Linked DNA regions of Homo sapiens: regions 1 and 2 are each linked to region 3. The links are contacts of gene promoters, found by promoter capture Hi-C in human tissues and cell types (Jung and others, 2019). All regions are on one chromosome and are shown on one strand. The core of a region is centred on a gene start or on the middle of the fragment in contact, and the rest is flanking DNA. Distances in the headings are between cores, read along the strand shown.

Region 1 (3,183 bases), core at 248-2,747, 660 kb after region 3:
AGGAGGAGGCCGAGCATCCCTCCTCGAAATCGCGAAATCCCGGCCCGACAATGTAGCCACGGAGTCGAAAGCCGCGTGCGAACTTGGCACTCACAAAGCCTAGATAACCGTCTATTTTCTCCTGTAAAATAGGAGGGATGGACCCCCACAGATCATTGTAAAAGGTTCTTACAAAGAAAAATCCTCCTGGACTGGGCACGGTGGCTCACGCCTGTAATCCCAGCACTTTGAGCGGATCACACTTCGAGACCAACCTGACCAACATGGAGAAACCCCGTCTCTACTAAATTAGCCGGGCGTAGTGGCGCATGCCTGTAATCCCAGCTACTCTGGAGGCTGAGGCAGGAGAATCGCTTTAACCCGGGAGGCAGAGGTTGTGGTGAGCCGAGATCGCGCCATTGCACTCCAGCCTGGGCAACAAGAGCGGAATTCTGTCTCAAAAAAAAAAAAGAGAGAAAAGAAAAATCCTGGAAGTCAAGTAAAAATGTGTGAAGGTGTTTTATAAAATATGAAATATCTAGAATACACAAATCTATAGAAGGACTCGGGGAAAGGGGAGTGAATGCTAATAAATACAGAGGTTCTTTCTGGGGTGATGAAAATGTACTAGTACTGATTGTGGCCGCGCTAGCACAAAAATCCGTTTCATTGGCCAGACGCTATGGCCCAGGGAAAAAAAGAAGGACTAGGGGGAATGGGGAGTGAATGCTAATGAATATGCAGTTTCTTTTTGTGGTCATGAAAGTGCACTAAAATTTTCATGCTAGCACAAAAATTGAATTGTACACTTCAAATAGGTGTATTTGTGATGTGCATTCTAGCTCCATAAAACTCAAAATGTGTGAAAATTCTTTGTAACTTTACTAAAAATTGGGGGCACTCTATAGTTTACAAAACTATCCCCATCCAGGCAGGGCACGGTGGTTCACACCTGTAATCCCAGCACTCTGGGAGTCTGAGGCGGGCGGATCACCTGAGGTGAGGAGTTCAAGACCAGCCCGACCAACATTGTGAAACCCCGTCTCTACTAAAAATACAAAATTAGCCGGGCGTGGTGACGCATGCCTGTAATCCCACTTACTCGGGAGGCTGAGGCAGGAGAATCGCTTGAACCCGGGAGGCAGAGGTTGCAGTGAGCTGAGATCGCACCATTATACTCCAGCCTGGGCAACAAGAACAAAACTCCGACTCAAAAAAAAAAAAATTCTCCATCTAGTCCTCTGAGGTGAGCAGCATTTTGTTTGTTTGTTTGTTTTGTTTGTTTTGAGATGGAGTCTCGCTCTTGTTGCCTAGGCTGGAGTGCAATGATGCGATCTCAGCTCACTACAACCTCTGCCTCCCAGGTTCAAGCGATTCTCCTGCTTCAGCTTCCCGTGTAGCTGGGATTACAGGTGCGCACTACCATGCTTGGCTAATTTTTGTATTTTTAGTAGAGACAGGGTTTCACCATGTTGGCCGGGCTAGTCTCGAATTCCTGACTTCAGGTGATCCACCCACCTCAGCCTCCCAAAGTGCTGGGAGTACAAGTGTGAGCCACCGAGCCCTGCTTATTTATTTATTTATTTATTTAGAGACAGAGTCTCTGTCATCCAGGCTAGAGTGCAGTGGCACTATTTCAGCTTACTACAGCCTCCGCCTCCCAGAGCTAAAGCAATTCTCCTGCCTCAGCCTCCTGAGTAGCTGGGATTACAGGCATGTGCCACCACACCCGGCTAATTTTTGTATTTTTAGCAGGTGGCGTTTCGCCATGTTGGCCAGGCTGGTGGTGGCACAATTGGAGGGCAGAAGGGACAGTAAAAGATGCCCTAGAAGCTCAGAAGAAGGAAAGACCTCAGAAGGCTTCGACGCATGGGTGGGGCTGCTGTTGCAGCTGGACCTTCAAGGATGATAGAATCTAAACAAATGCAGTAGTAATGAAAGAGGTAAAAGATGGGAAACCATGGAAAATATACAGAGGTAATAATTAGATGAAGCCCCCACGTGGTGACTTGTGCCTGAAATCACAAGTGTGCCCAGAAACGGGGCCTCACTGTGTTGTCCAGTCTGGTCTCGAACTCCTGTTTCAAGCAATCTTCATGCCTCAGCCTCCTAAAGTGCTGGGATTACAGGAGTGAGCCACTGCATCCGGCCACCCTTCATTTTAAAAGTACATTTCTGGCCAGGTGCGGTGGCTTATGCCTGTAATCCCAGCACGTTGGGAGTCCAAGGCGGGCCAATCACTTGAGGTCAGGACTTCAAGACCAGCTTGGCCAACATGATGAAACCCCATCTGTACTAAAAATACAAAAATTAGCTGGGTGTGGTTGTGTGAACCTGTAATTCCAGCTGCTCAGGCGGCTGAGGCACGAGAATAGCTTGAACCCAGGAGACAGAGGTTGCAGCAAGCTGAGATCGCACCACTGCACTCCAGCCTGGGTGATAGAGTGAGACTCAGTCTCAAAAAAAAAAAAAAAAAAACCACATTTCTGCCCAGGCGCATTGGCTCATGTCCATAATCCAGCGCTTTGGGAGGCTAAGGTGGGTAGATCACCTGAGGTCAGGAGTTGGAGACCAGCCTAGCCAAAATGGTGAAACCCCTTCTCTACTAAATACAAAAAATTAGCTGGGCGTGGTGGCAGGTGCCTGTAATCCCAGCTACTCAGGAGGCTGAGGCAGGAGAATCGCTTAAACTGGGAAGGCGGAAGTTGCAGTGAGCTGAGATCGTGCCATTGCACTCCAGCCTGGACAACAGCGAAACTCTAAAAAAAAAAAAAAAAAATTAGCCGGGCGTGGTGGCATCCGCCTGTAATCCCAGCTACTCAGGAGGCTGAGGCAGGAGAATCACTTGAACCCAGGAGGTAGAGCTTGCAGTGAGCCAAGATCGCACCATTGCACTCCAGCCTGGGCAACAAGAGTGAAACTCCATCGCAAAAAAACATAATAGTAAGGCCGGGCGCGGTGGCTCAAGCCTGTAATCCCAGCACTTTGGGAGGCCGAGGCGGGCAGATCACAAGGTCAGGAGATCAAGACCATCCTGACTAACACGGTGAAACCCCGTCTCTATTAAAAATACAAAAAATTAGCTGGGTGTGGTGGCGGGTGCCTGTAGTCCCAGCTGCTCAGGAGGCTGAGGCAGGAGAATGGCATGAACCTGGGAGGCGGAGCTTGCAGTGAGCCGAGATCGTGCCACTGCACTCTAGCCTG
Region 2 (3,038 bases), core at 142-2,641, 600 kb after region 3:
GGTCAGGGTTGCGTTCCACCAGCACTTCAGGACTCTCCTTCACAGGAGCCTTTCTAGGCCCTTTGGCTCTTGGGACTTCCTCCGGTTCCTCTTCCTTCCTGTTTGGGACATCTCCTGGGAAACCGGAATTAAGTTACACTTACAAACACTTTTGCACAGACTGTCTCAGGTTATAGAATGCTTTTCACTTAAGGCAGTGAGGGAAGTTCTGTCCAGTGATTAACACACAGGCTTTAGAACAAGGTAAACAGGATTCAGATCTCCTAAAAGTGCCTTATCTGAGCCTTGGTTCCTTATGCATCAAATGGGAATAATAATGGCTTTTGACTTCACAGCGTTACTGGTTTAGCTGAGTAGATGCATGTTAAGCACTTAGGAAGTGCTCAGGAAGCAGGGGCTATTATTTATTTATTTATTTATTTATTTATTTATTTATTTATTTATTTTTGAGACGGAGTCTCACTCTGTCACCCAGGCTGGAGTGCCTGGTTGGACTGGGCTCCCAGTCCTCACAGGACCGCTGTCCCATGTTCTGAAAACTTTGTACCAGGTCTGCCTTCTTTACTCCTCTAGTACCCAACACAGTTGAATTTCTTTAGGGATGCTGGAAGTGGGGGCCTGAAAAGAAACTCTGCTAGACAGGAAGCCCTGGAAAACCAAGTGGGGGGACCCGGGACTATCCCTCACCTCTCCGAGCTCCTCCCAGTCTTTCCCCCTTCTCAGGATCCTGGGCGGCGGGGCTCCAAGCCTCACTCTCCTGTTCCATCCAAGAGATGAGGGCTGGTTTGGGGCCTGGGAATCCTGGGAGAGAACAGGGATCACAGCGCGGGCCTGAGAGGCCATCGTGGGAAGATGGCATTCCCCTCCAGGCTGAGGGCACCCCCTCGGAGCTTATACTCAACCTGGAAGGGGCTGCAGTGCTGCTGCCTGAATGAAATGGATGCGGGTGAAAACACTCCCGAGGGGGTACCTGAAGCCCTGGGAACGGGAGGTGGCTGCTGGTGTTGGTGCAAGAGTGCGGGATTAGGGCTCACAGTCCTCTCGGCCCTTCTACATCATCTCCCCTGTGAACCCGGTGAAGGAGGAGGGGGCTCGGACCCGGGGCTCTCACCGAGCGCGCCCAGGTGGCCGTAGGTCTCCTGCATCACGTCCCGGTACAGAGCCCTCTGCGCGGGCCGCAGACAGCCCCACTCCTCCGGGGAGAAGTACACGGCCACGTCCGCGAAGCTCACAGTCCCGGGCTTCCTGCAACCAGGCCGGGTCTCCCCGGGCCTCGGCGCCAGGAGCGGGGCTGGGGGCGGCGCCATGGGGCCTCGCAGCCCCGATCGGCGGCCGCCAGGTCCCTGGAGCCGCCGCCTCCCCGCTCCCGGCCTCAGCTGTCGTTGTCCACAGGAAGGGCGGCCCCGCCCAGCCGTGGCGTCCGAACGCAGCCGAGGCAACCGAAGTAGCAGGGACTGGCTGCTAGGGATTCGAGGATTCTGATAGGGACAAATATAATTCCTCAGTGTTTATTCACTTCATGGCCGCTTGGACATAGACACCCGGGTTAAGGGACCCGGAAGGTGCCTTCTGAAAATATGGCGACCACCCTTCAATTGTCACAGGCTGCTCTTAAGGGCGCCATTATTTGACCATATCAAATATGGAGCCTTTCTGACTTCTCTGGCCTCATCGTCCCACTTGCCCTTAAATAAAGCCGCTTCGGCTGCTTTTTCTAGTGGGGGAGGCGGGGTGTCTGGGAAGTAGAGGAGAGGCTTCTTGCCTTCAAGAAAGATGTAAGGGCCCGAAGCTTCACTTACCCCTCTGTACCCGCAATACGCAACGGCCGATGATTGGCGACGATCCCGGAAGAAGCTGCGCGGTGATTGGCCTGGGACTGGCGGGGCATTTGAAGGGACCCCGCGGTCCTGAAGCCTCTGTTGACAGACTGGAGCGCAGCGGAGACCTCGGCATCTGCGGTGCTCGGGATTGTGTCCCCTACGGTCTCTTACCGTGCCTCCCGATGGCGGGAGCTGGAATTTGGTCCCCAGACCCCTTGGGAAGACGCGCACACCCTGGCAAACCATGTGTACACCCGCGGTAGAAGCAGGTGCGTGTTTTACAGTAGCTTAGCTGCGGAGTCCACCCAGCCCCTGGCATCCGCAGCTCGGCTCGCTCAGGCTCTAGACCGAAGCTGCAGGCGAAGGAACGTGCTTGGTGAGGATGGAATCGGAATGGGGAAGTTTTAAATTAAATAGTAATTGTTGCTAACATACATGAATTTATTTTTTGTTTGTTTTGAGACAGGGTCTTGCTCTGTGGCCCAGCAGTGCGATCCTAGCTCACTGCAGACTCGACCTCCCGGGCTGAAGCGATCTTCTCACCTCAGCCTCCCGAGTAGCTGGGACCACAGGCGCACACCCAATGCTTGGCTAATTTTTAAATTTTAAAACAGAGACAGGGTCTTGCTATGTTGCCCAGGCTGGTCTGGAACTCCTGGCCTCAAGCAATTCTCCTGCCTCGGCCTCCCAAAGTGCTGTGATTACAGGCATGCGCCACGGTTCCCAGCCATTTCTACTTTTTCTTTGAGAAGGAGTTTTACTCTTGTTGCCCAGGCTGGAGTGCAATGGCGCTATCTCGGCTTGCCCAGGCTGGAGTGCAATGGCGCTATCTAGGCTCACCGCAACCTTCGCCTCCCAGGTTCAAGCGATTCTCCTGCCTCAGCCTCCCAAGTAGCTGGGATTACAGGCATGAGCCACCATGCCCGTCTAATTTTGTATTTTTAGTAGAGACGGGGTTTCTCCATATTAAGTCAGGCTGGTCTCGAACTCCCGACCTCAGGTGATCCTCCCGCCTCAGCCTCCCAAAGTGCTGGGATTACAGGCGTGAGCCACGGCGCCCGGCCCTGCCATTTCTACTTATTTACGTTGTTCCAAATTATCAAAGATAGCATCAACTTTCAAATCCTAATTTTTTTTTTCCTGGGAAACCTTCCTCCTTTAGCCTTCAGTCTCCTCTCTAAACTGGGTTGGGCCTCAGTTCTTCTCATACCGGGTCTC
Region 3 (3,417 bases), core at 774-3,273:
CAAATTATTATAAAGTGGATACTTATAAATACCACTGAGTAGAATATTACCAGCTGTCCAGAAACCCCCCATGGTCCCTTCCTTCCTGACAATGCCCTCTCTCTCCCTAGAAATTACTGTCCTGCTTTATAATGTATTGCCATGTATGTATTCCTAAATAATATAGTTTGGTTTTACTTATTTTTGAAACTATGTAGACAGAATCATACACATTCTTTTGTGGCTGACTTCTTTCAAGCAACATTGTGATTTTAAGACTCATAACTAGTTCACATCCAAGCATTTGGGTAACAATGGTGAGTTAAGAGGGTTCACATTTGATGATTTGTCCTGAATATGAACCATGTTTGTCTTGCTTTTGTCCTGAAATTCCAATACCCAGTTTTATGATGGAAATTTTGTAAAATTCAACTTGAACCGCTCAGAAGAGTCTAACTGATGATACTCATTTACTGGGGACATAGTATGTGCCCAAGAACTTGACATGCACCTTCTGTCTTCCATTTAGTCATCGTTACCTTTAGAAAAAGCTGATTCCGTTAACAAGATCTTTGGAGGGAATCAGCTTCACAAACGTAGCAGTGGGTGGGGGTCATGTTGGTTAACCAGTTCACACATCAGCTCACTAAAGGAAAAAATATTTCTGCAAAAAATCTTCACTTGTCAGAGGGGGGTGCATGAAATTTGAGAGCCATGTGTTATGCATCCAGCTCTTGAACTGGTCTCAGCTTCAGCTGGCTGCAGTGCCCTAGGAAGTTACTATGGGAAAAGTGGAAATAGTTGAGGCCCAGGGAACTGATCAGGCCAGAGGAAGTGGAAGCTCAAGATCAACTGTGCTTATTTTGCTGATGGCTGGGCCTAAATGCCCCAACCACCTACTTGGGACAGGAAATGACAGGACCCTCTCAACCTTGGACTGGGAAAGGAGGGCTTCCTGGCCCCTGACAGACCCTGGGGTCCTGAGGCTACCTTAGTTGGGATTAAATGCCCGTATTGGTCTCTAGCTGTCACTCCCTCTGCTCCTTCCTCAATTTCTGCACACATCTCAGAGCTTCCTCTAGCAGCTCTTCGACCTGTTTTGTTGTTTTATTTTCTTTCTCCCCAGGTGTGAATCAACTTCTTGGGCCTTGGCTCTGAGTTGGAAAAGGTTTTAGAAAAAGTGAAGAGCTGGAATGTGGGGGAAAATAAAAAGCTTTTTTGCCCAGTGGCGTGTATGGTGTTTATTGGGGGTTGGATTGAGGTGGGGATTTTAGGGTAGGCAGGCTTAGAAGTTTTGGGGGACTCTTTCCTGTTGACTCTCTAGTTTGGACACAGGTTGGCATAGGGCATAGGTTACTTGAGCTCTCCCCATGGTTGACTTGGCTTTGGTAAACACCTGTCTTGTTTTCTTCTACGAAATAAAATGGATAATTACAGTTAGTTGGGCGGGTGGGGTGTCAGGTCATGGAAATGCTGTGACATAAATGCACTGTGACCTTGGCAAGTCTTGCAACCTGCAGCGCCTCAATTTCCGTAAGAGATTTGACCGATTGAGTTTTCCCAGCGTCGACGCGCAAAGATTCCTCGCACTTGGAGGCCCTTTTCCAGGTTAGATGGTTGCTAACCTCGGAGCAGTCTATTTTCCCGCCTTTTCCGCGCCCAGCAGCAGCTTCCTTTGCCCCTCCCAACTTCCACCCTGCGCGCAGTCGCAGATCGCCGCTGCTGTCCGTCCACCCGCGCCCCCTCAAAGCTTCCCCTAGCAACAAGCTCGGGCTCAGAGCGAAGGCGGGGCGAGCGCATGCGCTGCAGCTCTGTCCACCGCCAGTCGTGGGACAGAGTGCCGGGCTCCTCCCCTTGCAAGTCTAGCTCTTCTCCCCGCCTCCTCCGGCCTGGGGTCCGCGTGGCGGGGCGGGCGCGCACTCGGGCTTGGCGGCTGCCGGTCTCCCAGGCCGCGGCAGTGAGGAGAGAGGGCGGGGCTGAGTCCTCTGCGCCCCCGCCCCCTTTAGCCCGGCGTCCCTACCGCGCCTGCGCGCTCCCGCCCGGTCTCCATCTTGGAATTGGGAGGAAGAGGGAGAGGGAGACCGGGACGAGACCGGGGCTGTGGTGCGGAGAGAGGCTGAGACGGAGAAGAGGAGAGGCAGAGAGGGCGCGGGGACCGTCAGCAGCACCTTAGCTACAATCGTTCAGCTATTCTCGGAAGAGAGAAGGGAGAGGGAGGAGGCCGGGGCGGGAGTGGGGGCTGTCACCCTCGGACCCCGGCGTGAGAGGGGCCGTGCGGCCGGACGTCCTCGGGGTGGGCCCCCAGTCGGTGGCCGAAGACCTACAGCTCAGGCCCCTGGGTCCCAAATTTCCAGGCTTTGCCCCTCCTCCTTTCTCAGATACCCGGGTAACAGTCCTCATAGTCCAGATATCCGGGACTCGGGTCCCAACCTCTCTAAACCTGGGTCTCTGTTTCATAGAATTTCAAATATCAGGTTCAGGCCCCTGCGTGCACCAGTATCCGGGGTTCATTCCCCGGGCGTTCAAATATCGGATTCAGTCTCCATCCCGTTCAGATATTCGGGGTTCAGACCCCACAATCAGAAATCCGGAATTCGGCAGCTGTCGCCCTCGACGAGGGGGAGGACTGGACCGCGAGGTCAGATTAGGTTGTCACCCCCTCCCCTCCAGGGGAGGCTTCCCGGGCCCGCCCCTCAGGAAGGGCGAAAGCCGAGGAAGAGGTGGCAAGGGGAAAGGTCTCCTTGCCCCTCTCCCTGCTTGGCAGAGCCGCTGGAGGACCCCAGGCGGAAGCGGAGGCGCTGGGGCACCATAGTGACCCCTACCAGGTGAGACACGGGGTGCAGGGGCGCGGGTCCCTGTGTCTAGTTCTGAGAAGAAAGGGTGCGCCTTTCTGAGAAGCTGGACTTGGGTAGGCCCTCTCAGGATGGGGAAGCCCAGCTGAGCGAGTGGTCAGCCTCTGGCTAGCCTTGCCTTCTGTTGCCACCCCCTTCCCCTTCCTCTTCCCTTCATTGTGTCTGGTTGGTGGGGGACCTCAGGTGACAGGGTCTCTGATGTCACCGGCGTTCACACCCTAGGGTGCTTCAGCTAATCAGATGGATTTGCACTTCAGTCTTCTCTCCTTCACTTTGCCCCTCACAGCCACCTCTCCTCCCTGATATGTCCCGTTCTCCTGGCTATTCTGTGGTTTTGATTCCCATGCCTCTGATTCCCATGGTGGGTCTGCTTATCTGCTTTTCAGGCCTGGTCTGGTTGGATTTCTTGTCCTTGCAAGGAAGTGTGTGTATATGTGTTTGTGTGTATGCGTGTGTGTGTGTGCTTGGAGGTGCCTGGCAATGTTTTCCCCCAGCTGCAGTTACCTTCCAACCTCTTGCTGTGATGGTGTCAATAATCTCATCCATTTGTCAAACGATCTGTCTTTTACAAAGTGCTTTGACAGCC

What was found. Contacts are between HindIII fragments. The study calls those that stand out against the background at their distance.
Region 1: a fragment that was not itself captured here is called in contact with the fragment with the promoter of TAOK2 in region 3 in 1 of the 25 tissues and cell types used here (hippocampus).
Region 2: the fragment with the promoter of ZNF688 here is called in contact with the fragment with the promoter of TAOK2 in region 3 in 2 of the 25 tissues and cell types used here (aorta and hippocampus).

Annotation. Positions count from the first base shown.
Region 1 is chr16:30,634,725-30,637,907 of GRCh38, forward strand. No RefSeq gene overlaps it. Among named protein-coding and RNA genes, the nearest start is that of PRR14, 15 kb to the right of the region's middle. RefSeq lists an enhancer at 1-644. The HindIII fragment of the contact is 7,557 bases long and covers 1-3,183 here.
Region 2 is chr16:30,570,323-30,573,360 of GRCh38, forward strand. It overlaps ZNF688 (zinc finger protein 688), which reads right to left and starts at 1,392. Exons shown (of 3, transcript NM_145271.4): 1 at 1,112-1,392; 2 at 688-801; 3 at 1-114. The coding sequence starts at 1,307. RefSeq lists an enhancer at 1-297 and a silencer at 1,160-1,399. The HindIII fragment of the contact is 17,900 bases long and covers 1-3,038 here.
Region 3 is chr16:29,971,845-29,975,261 of GRCh38, forward strand. TAOK2 (TAO kinase 2) reads left to right here and starts at 2,024. Exons shown (of 16, transcript NM_016151.4): 1 at 2,024-2,804. It overlaps TMEM219 (transmembrane protein 219), which reads left to right. Exons shown (of 6, transcript NM_001083613.2): 6 at 1,106-1,204. It overlaps LOC124903762, which reads left to right and starts at 1,778. Exons shown (of 2, transcript XM_047435036.1): 1 at 1,778-1,936; 2 at 2,153-2,791. The coding sequence starts at 1,778. The coding sequence ends at 2,791. RefSeq lists a silencer at 1,714-2,083 and enhancers at 2,507-3,278, 2,985-3,114. The HindIII fragment of the contact is 10,689 bases long and covers 1,461-3,417 here.